Regions from separate parts of the Homo sapiens genome. Here region 1 is linked to region 2. The links are contacts of gene promoters, found by promoter capture Hi-C in blood cells and fetal thymus (Javierre and others, 2016). All regions are on one chromosome and are shown on one strand. The core of a region is centred on a gene start or on the middle of the fragment in contact, and the rest is flanking DNA. Distances in the headings are between cores, read along the strand shown.

Region 1 (5,836 bases), core at 2,765-5,264, 350 kb after region 2:
ACGGCTAATTTTTTTTTTTTTTTAGTAGAGACGGGGTTTCACCGTGTTAGCCAGGATGGTCTCGATCTCCTGACCTCGTGATCCACCCGCCTCGGCCTCCCAGAGTGCTGGGATTACAGGCGTGAGCCACCGCGCCCGGCCGAAATAACTCTTTCTAGCAAGGAAAGTATAGACCTCAGACTCAGCTACCAGCAGACAACTGTATCTAGCTAGAACTTACTATCATTTTGTTTTCATTGTATTTATTTTAATATTTACTTCCTGCTTCCTGTTTATGGCAAGTGATAGTGGTTTTTCTTTTTCCTTTGGTTTAGAGATGGGGTCATGCTATGTGCCCGGGCTGGATTCAAGAACTCCTGGGCTCAAGTGATCCTCTCCGCTTCTCAGTGAAGAGGTATAAAGCTAAGGATAGGTGAGACCACATAGAATGGTGCCACAGACATAGGCTTACAACAAAAGGGGGTGAGCACGGACCCCGTTCTGGCAGCAGGTACCAAGCCAGCCTGGATAAAGTCAGTTTCTTTTCTTTCCTTCTTTTTTTTTTTTTTTTTCTTTTTTTTTTCAGATGGGGTTTCACTCTGGTACCCAGCCTGGAGTGCAATGGCGCAATCTCAGCTCACTGCAACCTCTGCCTCCCGGGTTCAAGTGATTCTCCTGCCTCAGCCTCCCTGGTGGCTGGGATTACAGGCATGTGCCACCAGGCCCGGCTAATTTTTCTATTTTTAGTAGAGACAGGGTTTCACCATGTTGGCCAGGCTGGTCTCAAACTCCTGACCTCAGGTGATCCTCCTGCCTTGGCCTCCCAAAGTGCTGGGATTACAGGCGTGAGCCACCACGCCCAGTGGATAAAGTCAGTTTCTGAGAGGAAGAAACATATTTTCAAGGTCTTTTCTTGATTACTCTTCTGGCCATAGCAGAAATCTGACCTTTTGCTGGACAACCTCTCTGTCTCAGCCTTTTCACGGACCCCACCCTCTCTACTTCTCCATCTCTCAGGGCAGGAGGGAGCAGTGACTTTTTCCTCACTTCCAGCTGCTGCATCCTCCAGGCCATAGTCCATTATCTCACCCCAGTTCAACAACTTTTCCTCATTTGACTCCAAGCTGTCTGGTCACATCACTAATCACTCAAGCCCCGCACCCATTTAATTTGGTGTTTTCAGCTACTCATTTATAATTTTCCCTCCTATTTTCTCTAGTGTCATCACTACCTCTGAAAAGTTGCTGTTTTTTCCAAAACTCCAATTTGCTCTTATTTACCACTGTCTGCTCTAATAGTTGTGCAAGAGTTGTGCATTACAAACTTGGTTGTACATTAGGTTAATGATGTGGGGAGCTTTAAAAAAAATCCCAAAGTCCAGGCCCAACCCCAGACCAATTTAAGTCACATTCTTTAGGGGTAGGAGTGGTGGAGATTTTTGTTTTGTTTTGTTGTTATTTTTCAGTATCCCAGGTGATCCCGATGTTCAGCCAAGGTTGAGAACTCATCCATACTAGCGCCAACTCCTTGGACTCCATCCTATTCTTCCAGGCTAGCAGCTTATCCTGGCTTCATTGCCTTCTCACCCAGCTTAGGCCCCAGGGTCATTCACTTTAACCAGGTTGTTGCCCAACCGCTCATCTCCCACCCAGAGGGGATATGTAAGTTGCTAGAGAAAGACACTTCACTATCCTGATTCAGGCTTTCTAACTCCACTGGAGCCCTGTGCTAATCAGCGTTTATACAAGCTGCCTGGATAGATCTATTTCTCATAGTGGCTGTTCCAACCTGTTTCCACTCTCCTCAGATCCCTAACCCATGCCCTCCCCTCCCTCCTATCACTCAGCACAGTGCTTAAGTCTGTGGAAGAAACTCTTCCTACATGTGTGCACATTTAAGTGATCATATGGCGTGCTTCTGCTTTACTAAGTTTACTAAGTTTTGCAACTCTTCTGCAATTTTAAAATTATTTGAAAATAAGATTAAAAGCCAAAAAACCGAAAAACTCCCTGGATCCCTCCAGCTAGGATCTTTGTTCTCTATTTTCCTTTGGAGAAAAATATGTCCCCACACATGGTTACTACTTCCTCACCTTCCATTTGCCTTGCCAAAACTGCTCTGGATATTGTCATCAGTGGTACCCAAGTTGACAAATTCAGTGGATCTTTCTAGACCTCATGTTATATGACATCTTAGGGTATCTGATACAGCTGACCATTCCCTTCTTCTGGAAATACTTTGGCTTCCAAGATACAAAACTCTCCAGGTTTTCCTTTTCTACCTCTAGCTCCACCTTCTTATTCCAACTTTTCTTTTCTTTTTTTTTTTTTTTTTTTTTGAGACAGAGTCTGACTGTGTCACCCAGGCTGGAGTGCAGTGATGCGATCTCAGCTCACTGCAACCTCTGCCTCCTGGGTTCCAGTGATTTTCCTGCCTCAGCCTCCCGAGTAGCTTGGATTATAGGCATGCACCACCATGCCCAGCTAATTTTTGTATTTTTAGTAGAGATAGGGTTTCACCTTGTTGACCAGGCTGGTCTTGAATTCAAGCGATCTGCCCATCTCAGCGTCCCAAAGTGCTGAGATTACAGGCATGATCCACCGCACCCAGGCTTCTCCCTAGGTAATCTCATTCGTACCTCTGGCCTCAAATGTCATCTATGTGCCAGTGATTCCTAAGCTTACATCCCTATGCTAGACCTCTCTTCAGAGCTCTAGACTCATATATCCACATAGCTACTTAATTTTGGCCCTGGATGTCTCAAAATTAAACTCTTGATGTTCTCTCTCATATGTGCTCTTCCTTTAATTTGTCCCTTTCATTATTAAATGGTACTGCCATCCTCTTCCAGCCACTAGCTGCTCACGCTAGAAACACTGGTGTCATTTCAGATATTTCCATTTTTCTCACTAACCAAGTCTAATCCTTCAAGTTCAAAATATAAACATAGAAATGTTCCATTTCTCTCCATCTCTACTGCACCCACTCTCATCTTTTGCCCAGATTACAGTGATAGCCTCCTAACTGGTCTCCTTGTATCCCATTTTGCCTTCTCCAGCGCAGTCTCCAAACACTAACTTCAGTGACCTTCTGAAAATACTACCACGATTATATCATTCCTGTGTTTAAATTCCTTCTACTGCTTCCCACTTCACACAGGATAAAGTCCAAAAATATTAATAAGAGCAACCACATACTTCCTGACCGGGCCTCTGCCCACCTCCTGAACCTCATCCCTTGCTTACTGCATTAAGGCTCCACTGCCTTTCTCAATCTCTCAACCGAATAGGCTCTTTGCCTGCCTCAGGACATCTTCCTAAAATTTTGATCCCTCCATATTACACATATGAAGTAGTATAAGGCTAGATTATGCTTTGGTAGCAAATAATCCCATCTAACTAGCTTATGCCTAAAACGGTGTATGTATTGCTCACATCACAGTCTGACATAGGTCAGGTGGCTCCTTAAAGAATTAAGTGGAAACTCAGGGGTTCAGAGTCCTCCCAGTCTGTGGCATACCCACATTAAAAATGTGGCCTTTGTTACAGCAGTTGAAAGAGAAGAGTGTGAGTGATTATGCAAGGAGTTTTCTGGTCAGGCCTGAAAATGTTATATATCATACCAATAGGATCTGCCCATACCCCATTGGCCAGATCATAGTCATATGACCCTAACCTAACTGCAAAGGAGGTAAGAAAAAAAAAAAAAAAGTCTTCCTGTGTGTCTAGGAAGAGGAAATGAGATTGGTGAACATCAGGCTACTTTTTGCCACATCCTGGTTAAAACCTACTCATTTTTAAAGTCTCAGCTTAAATAATACTTACTTACAAAGGTCTTCCAGCTCCTCCAACTTAAATTAGGCATCCCTGATACATTCTATTGTAGCACCCTGTAATTTTCCTTTACAGCATGATCACAATGGAAAGTTTATATTTCTTTATGTGATTAATATTTATATCTGTTGCTAGACTGTAGGCTCTATAGGAGCAAGGACTGCATCTGTTTTGCTCCCACTGTGTCTCTAGCACCTATTACAGTACTTGGTATATAACTGGTATAAAAGTTTTCGAGTGAACAAATGAACAGTTGCACACAGTCATTGCCTGGCTCCAAATAGCACATGACTTTTGCAGGAGAAAGACAAGTAAGTAGGCAGTCATGGTTTAGTGTGATGATAAATGTTCCAGGCAGGTAAGCCCAGGGAGCTGTGAAAGCAACCTGAAGGAACTTGCAAGGCTTCTGTGTTTTGTCTTTCACAGCAGTCGAATCCAGGAGTCTGCAAACTATGGCCTGTAGGCCAAATCTGGCTCATTGCCTGTTTTTTAACTGCCCTTGAGCTAAGGATTGTTTATATATATATATATATATATATATATATATATATATATATATATATATATATTTTTTTTTTTTTAGACAGAGTCTCGCTCTGTTGCCCAGGCTGAAGTGCAATGGTGTGATCTCGGCTTACTGCAACCTCCGCCTGCCAGATTCAAGCAATTCTCCTGCCTCAGCTTCCTGAGTAGCTGGGATTACAGGCGCCCACCACCATGCCTGGCTAATTTTTTGTATTTTTAGTAGATTCAGGGTTTTGCCATGTTGGCCAGGCTGGTCTTGAACTCCTGACCTCAGGTGATCCATCTGCCTCAGCCTCCCACAGTGCTGGGCTTACAGGTGTGAACCACTGCGCCTGACCTGTTTTTATATTTTTAAGTGATTCAAAAATAATTAAAAGAAGAATATATTACGATACATGAAAACTATGTGAAATTCAAATTTCAATGTCCATAAAAAATATTCTATTGGAACACAGCTACTTCTTTTATTTATTGTCTATGACTGCTTTTGCGCTACAATGGCAGAGCTGAGTAGTTGTGAAAAAGGTCATACAGCTTGCAAATCCTAAAATATTTACTATCTGGCCCTTAATAGAAAAAAGTGTGCTGACTCCTGATCCAATCCATGCTTAGTTTAAAAGATCACATCTATCTGAATTACGTCCAACTGTACATCTTTAAGTTTCTGCTTTTTCCCATTCTCGTGTCTGCTACTAGAAATCAGGTTCCCTTTAGTTCTATCCTTGCAGCAGGATTCCTGCCCTGCTATCTCTCTCCTCTTTTCAGTTCATCACTGTGTACTAAAAAAAATCTGCACTCTTCAGCACAGCATCCCTAGTTCCCCATTATCTTACCACACCTCACCTTGTCAGCTGTATCTCTTACATCATACTTTCATCTAACCTTATCAATCACTTAACCCACCCTTGCCTTCTCTGCTGTAGGCCAATGCTCACAGTTACTCTCTCTGTGTGGAATGTCTATTGCTGGTATTTCTCTCTTATCCATCCTTTACGTTGGTTATCTCAAATGCCTCCTTGCCCTAAAAGCTTTCCCCAGTTCCTCGTCTGGGAATAATTATTGCCATCCGTGCGAGATTCTCTAACGCTTTGTACGACTGCTTTATTTCAAATTCTGCTTTATAGTTCTTTTGTGTACACACACAGATTGTTTCTCACGTTCTATTGAAAGCTGCTTAGGGGAGGAATTGTATTCTATTTTGTTAATCTCTGCATCCTTTCGGCGCCTAGTAAGAGTCTTGTACGAAACAGAAATGTCTCTCCTTCGTAAAATTCCTCATCGGGAGCTGGGACTGTGAATTTTTGTAACGTTTAAGAACTATCTGTTATTTAAGAACAAACACTCTGCTTAACTTGTTTAGGGTTCACTAGAGCGAGTAAGACCTTTTTAGGGCACGCCGTCTCGCTGGTTGTCACACACGCATGGATCGCTGCCGGGACCCTTAGGTTTGTCTGCAAACACGTGGGTGATAAGCGCTACCCTCCAGGCCCCTCCTCTGT
Region 2 (5,583 bases), core at 33-2,532:
GCCTTCCACAGTCTCTAGGGACCCCTAACCGACCCCCTTGGCTCTCAGGCCATAATCTCACAACCCTCCCCAGCCCAACGGGGTCCGCCAGCGCTGGGCTGTAATACCACTCGCCACCAGCAGATGCCGCAGCCCCAACGCTGCACAGAGCCAACTTTCAAAATTACCACCGAGCCTGTCGGCAGCCATTTAGTGCCTGCTGTATACTTGCCAAGCGCCACGCAGGGCCCTTCGGGTCAACCCTGTACCAGTTGGCCCAGCTGCGAAATGCGGCGATCGTTAGGGTTAAATTAGTAAAATGGTCTACAGTGCTTTGAACAATGACCGGCTGGTGGTGTGAAATTATTACCAGGCCGAGACCAGCCTGGAGCCGGCTCCTGCCTCGTGCCGTCCCGCAAGGAGGTCCTGCCCCCGGGCTTGCCTTCCAGCCAGTTGGGGCCTTTGCCCTTTTTCCTGTCGCCTGCCACTAAGCTGCTGCTAGGAACCCCGGCTGGAATTTAGCTCGCCTCCGGCAAAGTGGTGGGGGCGGGCCCGGGTCGGGGAGGCCACATCACCTGCTTCCTGCAGGAACTTTTAGAAGGCAGGCAGCCCGGAACATGGCACGGTGGGGCACGGTAGGGCGCGAGGGGCCGCGCCCCTAAGGCCTAAACTCAACATAAAGTTTCTTCTTTGCCCTCCAGCCCAGCCCCAGGGTCGGGGCGCGTTTATCGCGCCGCGCACAAGCGTGAGGAGCGGGGGTTTGCGGGGCCTCTTGACTGTACCTGGGGCTGCACCTGCCAGGAGTGCGGAAAGGCGCAGGGCCGAGGTCCCCAAGCCCAGAGCGGGCGGCAGCTGCGGGCGACCTCGGAGGGCAGAGCAACCTCGGAGGGCAGGGCGTCCCCGCTCCCGGCACGCACCAGTGCCCGCGCACCCCAGCTCGCACGTGGCGCTCGGGCCCCGGCTGCACGCGCACGCGCGCAGGGATGCGCCACGTGCTGGGGCCCCACACGCGGGGAGGCTGCGCTCGGCGAGGGCGCGCGGTCCCACGGGCGGGGAGCCGGGCCCCGCGACCCACCCGCCTCGGGCCACCAGTCCCCTCCCAGCGCCCCGCGTAGCCTGGTCCCGCGCCCGGGCTCCCGGGCTCCCGGGCTGGCACCGCGAGGCGGCGCGCCGGTCGCCCAGGGCCGCCGAGGGGCGGGGCCGCCCGTATTGTTCCTCCCCGAGCGGCTGGCCCTCCCCTTCCCCCAGACCCGGGCGGGGCGCGGGGCCGCCGAAGCCGCGGAACGTGGGCTCGCGCGCCCCGCCTTTGTCTCCCGGGCGCGAGCCGCCGCAGCCCCGCGCCCGCTGCTCGCTGCGGAGCCGTTTTGTGCCGCGGCGCGGGGGAACGGGGACGCGGGGCGGGGGGCGCGGAGCCGGCGGGCGCAGCCTCAGCATGGACGTGACAGTCTCGGAGCTCCTGGAGCTCTTCCTGCAGAGCCCGCTGGTGACCTGGGTGAGTGCGCCTGGCTCCCCGCCCCTTTGTTGGTGCACCGGCTTCTCTCTAGCCCGGCGACGGGACGCCGCAGACCCGACACGGCCGGGGCCCCGGGTGGCTCCGGGGCGCGAGGGACGCAGCAAGTGGCTCCCGGCCGGGGTTGGGGCCGCGTCCTGGAGTCCGGAGCTTTGTAACTCTGGAGCCGGCGCCCCCGTTGTGCGTCCGGCGCGGGACCCCGCCGCGCTTTCGGCCGGGCCAGGAGCCGGGCGGGTACACCTGTTCCCGCTGGGGCTCTAGGCTGGCTGCCTCGGGGCGGACCGGGTCCCAGTGGTCACTCCTGTCCCTGGGGTTTAGCCACTCCCGAAAAGGACCCCATTCTTCCCAACCAAATATCTCATGTAGTTTTTCTGAATCCCTGAGACCAGCCGGTGGATGGCGGTGACGGGTGGGGAATGGGGGGCGCCGAATGGGAAAGCGAACAGACTGGGGTGGGCGCACTGATTTACAATGGATTTGAGACGTGAGACATTTATTGAAAAGTCCTTTTTATTTTTATTTCTTCCGCTCTGGAACGCGGGAGAAAAGTGGCGAGGAAGTTTTTCCTCCTGTCTCGTGTCTGTTGCCCCGCGCGGGGAGGGGAGACAGGCCCTAGGAGAAGGCCGGGCTTGGTGCCTGCTGAAGGGTGGTGTGGGCGTGGGTGACCCCCTTCTGCTCACACTGACCCGTCCAGTCTCTGCCTGGGAGAGCTTTGGACCGTTTGTGCGCACGGGGTGACTTCCTGTCTTTCTCTCCTCGTCCCCCTCCCCGCAGGTGAAAACTTTTGGCCCGTTTGGAAGCGGCAGCCAGGACAACCTGACTATGTACATGGATTTAGTGGACGGCATCTTTTTGAACCAAATTATGCTGCAAATGTAAGTTACCTTCTTCTCGGAGGAAGGAAAGAATGGTGCGTTAGAAAGTTTGAGAGTAGAAATGGAGTGGAAGGTTGCATGGCGGGGTGTGTGTGGGGTGGGGGGTAGTTCTCTGAAGGTGGAGACGCTGGTATCTCAGTATTAACGTGCCTGTTGGACATTCGTAGGTGTTTGAAGAACTCCAGGACAGTGGGTCTGGCAGTTGGTTTGATGAAGGAAATTTGGAATTGAATGACTGTCATTTACGTGGTGTAGATAGTGCAATTGACTTCAGACTCAAGGACTTAATTGTGGTTTGAGCAATGAAATGAAAAAGTCCCCTTTTGGAGGGCAAGGAACTGTAACGGAGAGTGTCTGGTTACAGGAAGTGTCGGGGTGGGCCCAGGCATCCGAGGGTTACTGTAAAGTTTCATTTTAGATGAGGGTGTCTGTGTTTCTGAGCTCCTTTACATTTCATCTTCCTTTTTCAGTTGCCCCAAAGCAAGTGCAATTCATTAAGTCCTACTGTATGGACTGAGTTTAAAGTCACAGTGTTAGGAGGGTCCCATGGTGCTGTTTGTTTGGAAGCATGCAGCCTGAACAGGGTCTTAGTAGAAGTTACTCTTGCCAGCGAGTACATCTGACCACATCCTTTCCTGTTGCTGAGCTCTGCACGGCCTGATTGACAGCTTGCCACAACGTAGGTGTTGGCTTCTACCTTTGCATTCTGTTTTTAACTCAAACTGCAGGGAACATTGGAACTGAGTGTCGGGATGATTCACAGGCACTTGAAGCAAAATAAAACATCCTAATGTTCTCTGTGGATCAGCCTCGTGTGCGCACCTATTCACCTACGACTGAGCAAGTTGTCATACTGGAGCATAAATCTATTAGCTAATGAGAGATCAGCTTCGTTTGTGGCTCACAAAGGCAGAGGAGCAGTTTGCTTTGGCATATCCAGAAAGTGGCTTATATAGATTGCCTTAAACAGCCTGTTTAGAAAAAAATAATTCAAGAACCTTGCTTTTTTTTTTTTTGGAGACGGAGTTTCGCTCTTGTTGCCCAGGCTGGAGTGCAATGGCGTGATCTCAGCTCACCACAACCTCCGCCTCCCGGGTTCAAGCGATTATCCTACCTCAGCCTCCCGAGTAGCTGGGATTGCAGGCATGCGCCACCACGCCCGGCTAATTTTGTATTTTTAGTAGAAATGGGGTTTCTCCATGTTAGGCTGGTCTCGAACTCCCGACCTCAGGTGATCCGCCTGCCTTGGCCTCCCAAAGTGCTGGGATTACAGGCATGAGCCACTGTGGTGCCCGGCCTCCTTTTATTTTAATAAGTCATTTGATGTCATGCTGTTTAATGGTTTTTGCTTTTTTTTTTTTAAAGTTCACAGCTGTGGGTGTAGGAAAAAAAGTCACTACCAATCTTACCAGTCTTCAGTGTCTGATTAGATTGAAAAACATAAATCTGTTGCCAGCTTTGACAGCACTTCTTAGATAACTTTGTTGAAACTGAGTTTTCCGGAAGCTGTCTCGTGGCATATTCGAGTTCTGGCCACTCTCCCCTCATTCTGTTAGACCCTGAAAATTACTGGATTCCATTGGCGCAATGACCGGTGAAACTTCAACCTGTCCTTACCCAAGCCCAAGACTGTTTAATTAAAAAAACCAGCAGTATCCCCAGCCTTTTCATTCAGCTCCTACACCCAGGCAGAGGGGGGAACAAAAGCACTGGGACTGTTTCTCTTTCTTCCCTGACCTTTGGAATTCCTGAAGCGTTTCCCACTTGCTTGTAAATCAGGAAAGCCTGTTGGACCGTTCCTTTGAGAAACGCCAGCTCATCACTTGTTCTCATTTGGCCCATGGCTAAATTCGGCCGGGGTGGTGTGGGGTGGGAGGGTTTCTCCCCTTCCCTGGGCAATTTTAGATGTTCTCTCTGTGATATGCCAAGGTAATCATTCCAGAAGTGGGAACTGGTAAATTGTAGCTCTTAAGACTTCAAGAAGTGCTTCTGGGTCCCTCAGGATGAGTTGGGCACAGAGGAATGGAGCGTGGGGAGGCTGAATGGCTGGCTTTCCAGAATGAGGAAAGAGAAGAGAGAGCGGGTGGGCATGGTTTCCTGCATGGGTCATCAGAATCACCCAGTTCCAGGTGATAGAAGTCAGAATAGTGTTTTTGTGTCTGGAAGTGGTGAGGATTGACTGGAAAGGACCCGGGGGAACCTTTTCAGGGTAGTTGAAATGTCCTGCAGAGTGGCTGGAGTATGTTTCATTTTCCAAAACTCCTCAAATTATAACTTTATGCATTTCATGCTATGTAAAATTACCTCAACTAAACAATGAACCCTGGCCTGTATCGGACAGCCTACATAGCCAGCTGGGATTCAAACCCTTGGCCTCCCTTTTACCAGCAGTGTGACACTGGGCATGTCGCTCAGTGCCTTAGTTTCCTCATCTGTAAAATGGGACGTAAAGTACCTTCCTTAAGAGATGGTTGTGAGGACAGAATGAAACCTTGTGTTAACATTTAGCTATTTGCCTATGTAGGTGCCATCTTAATCCAGAAAGGATTTGAGGCACCAACTAAAAGTTCTTTTTTTGTGTGGCCTACCTTTTCCCCCACATTCTTCGATCCTTGGATTACCCCACAGTTCTCAGCCCTTAGCCCTCTACCAATGAGGTCTAGGGCAACATTGGACCCTGGGACCCAAGTCCTAGCCCCGCATTTAGACTGTACTGCACTTAAGCCTCTGTTTTCACTTCTACCAAATGGCAACATGTCACTAGCCAGCAGGTAAGGGGTAAGGCTGTTCTGCCTCATCTCCCATACCAGTAGCTCCTAGACTGTGCTATTTGCCTGTTTTGATTCCTTCACCCCAAGTTTGTAGGACCTGAAGAAATCGCGTTGAGCAGTACTGCTAACAGAGCTCAGATAAGAGGCTGTTACCTAACACCTGGGAGCCTTGTGGAGGTTGGCTGGGGGTCACGTGACTGCACCTGGCCATTGTCTCCGGCAACCGGAGAAGGCTGTTAGTAGTCTCTCGGCCCTGGTCTCCTGGTGACATCAGCACCTGGAAGCAGGGAAGCCCCACAGGTTCAGCTTTCTGGGGAGGCCCAGGGCTAGGAGAATTCATGAATGAAACTGAGGCTTTGAGTGGCCTGGATGGAGAGGCCTGGGAATGCCTGCTCAATAGCCCCTCTGTCAACACAGTGTCTTGGGTACCTACCAGCACCCAAGAGAA

Evidence for each region. The method cuts DNA at HindIII sites, captures the fragments that hold promoters and counts their contacts. A CHiCAGO score of 5 or more calls a contact.
Region 1: a fragment that was not itself captured here is called in contact with the fragment with the promoter of CCDC88C in region 2 in 3 of 17 cell types (non-activated CD4 T cells, activated CD4 T cells and naive CD8 T cells); the score reaches 7.6 in non-activated CD4 T cells.

Annotation. Positions count from the first base shown.
Region 1 is chr14:91,061,104-91,066,939 of GRCh38, reverse strand. It overlaps a transcript of DGLUCY not described here. Among named protein-coding and RNA genes, the nearest start is that of RPS6KA5, 3.4 kb to the right of the region's middle. RefSeq lists an enhancer at 3,425-3,574 and a silencer at 5,797-5,836. The HindIII fragment of the contact is 2,707 bases long and covers 2,661-5,367 here.
Region 2 is chr14:91,413,519-91,419,101 of GRCh38, reverse strand. It overlaps CCDC88C (coiled-coil domain containing 88C), which reads left to right and starts at 1,282. Exons shown (of 30, transcript NM_001080414.4): 1 at 1,282-1,471; 2 at 2,264-2,364. The coding sequence starts at 1,412. It overlaps CCDC88C-DT (CCDC88C divergent transcript), which reads right to left and starts at 856. Exons shown (of 3, transcript NR_184261.1): 1 at 762-856. It also overlaps the pseudogene LOC112268126. RefSeq lists enhancers at 157-801, 2,407-2,696, 2,707-2,836, 3,227-3,356 and a silencer at 867-1,786. The HindIII fragment of the contact is 7,798 bases long and covers 1-5,583 here.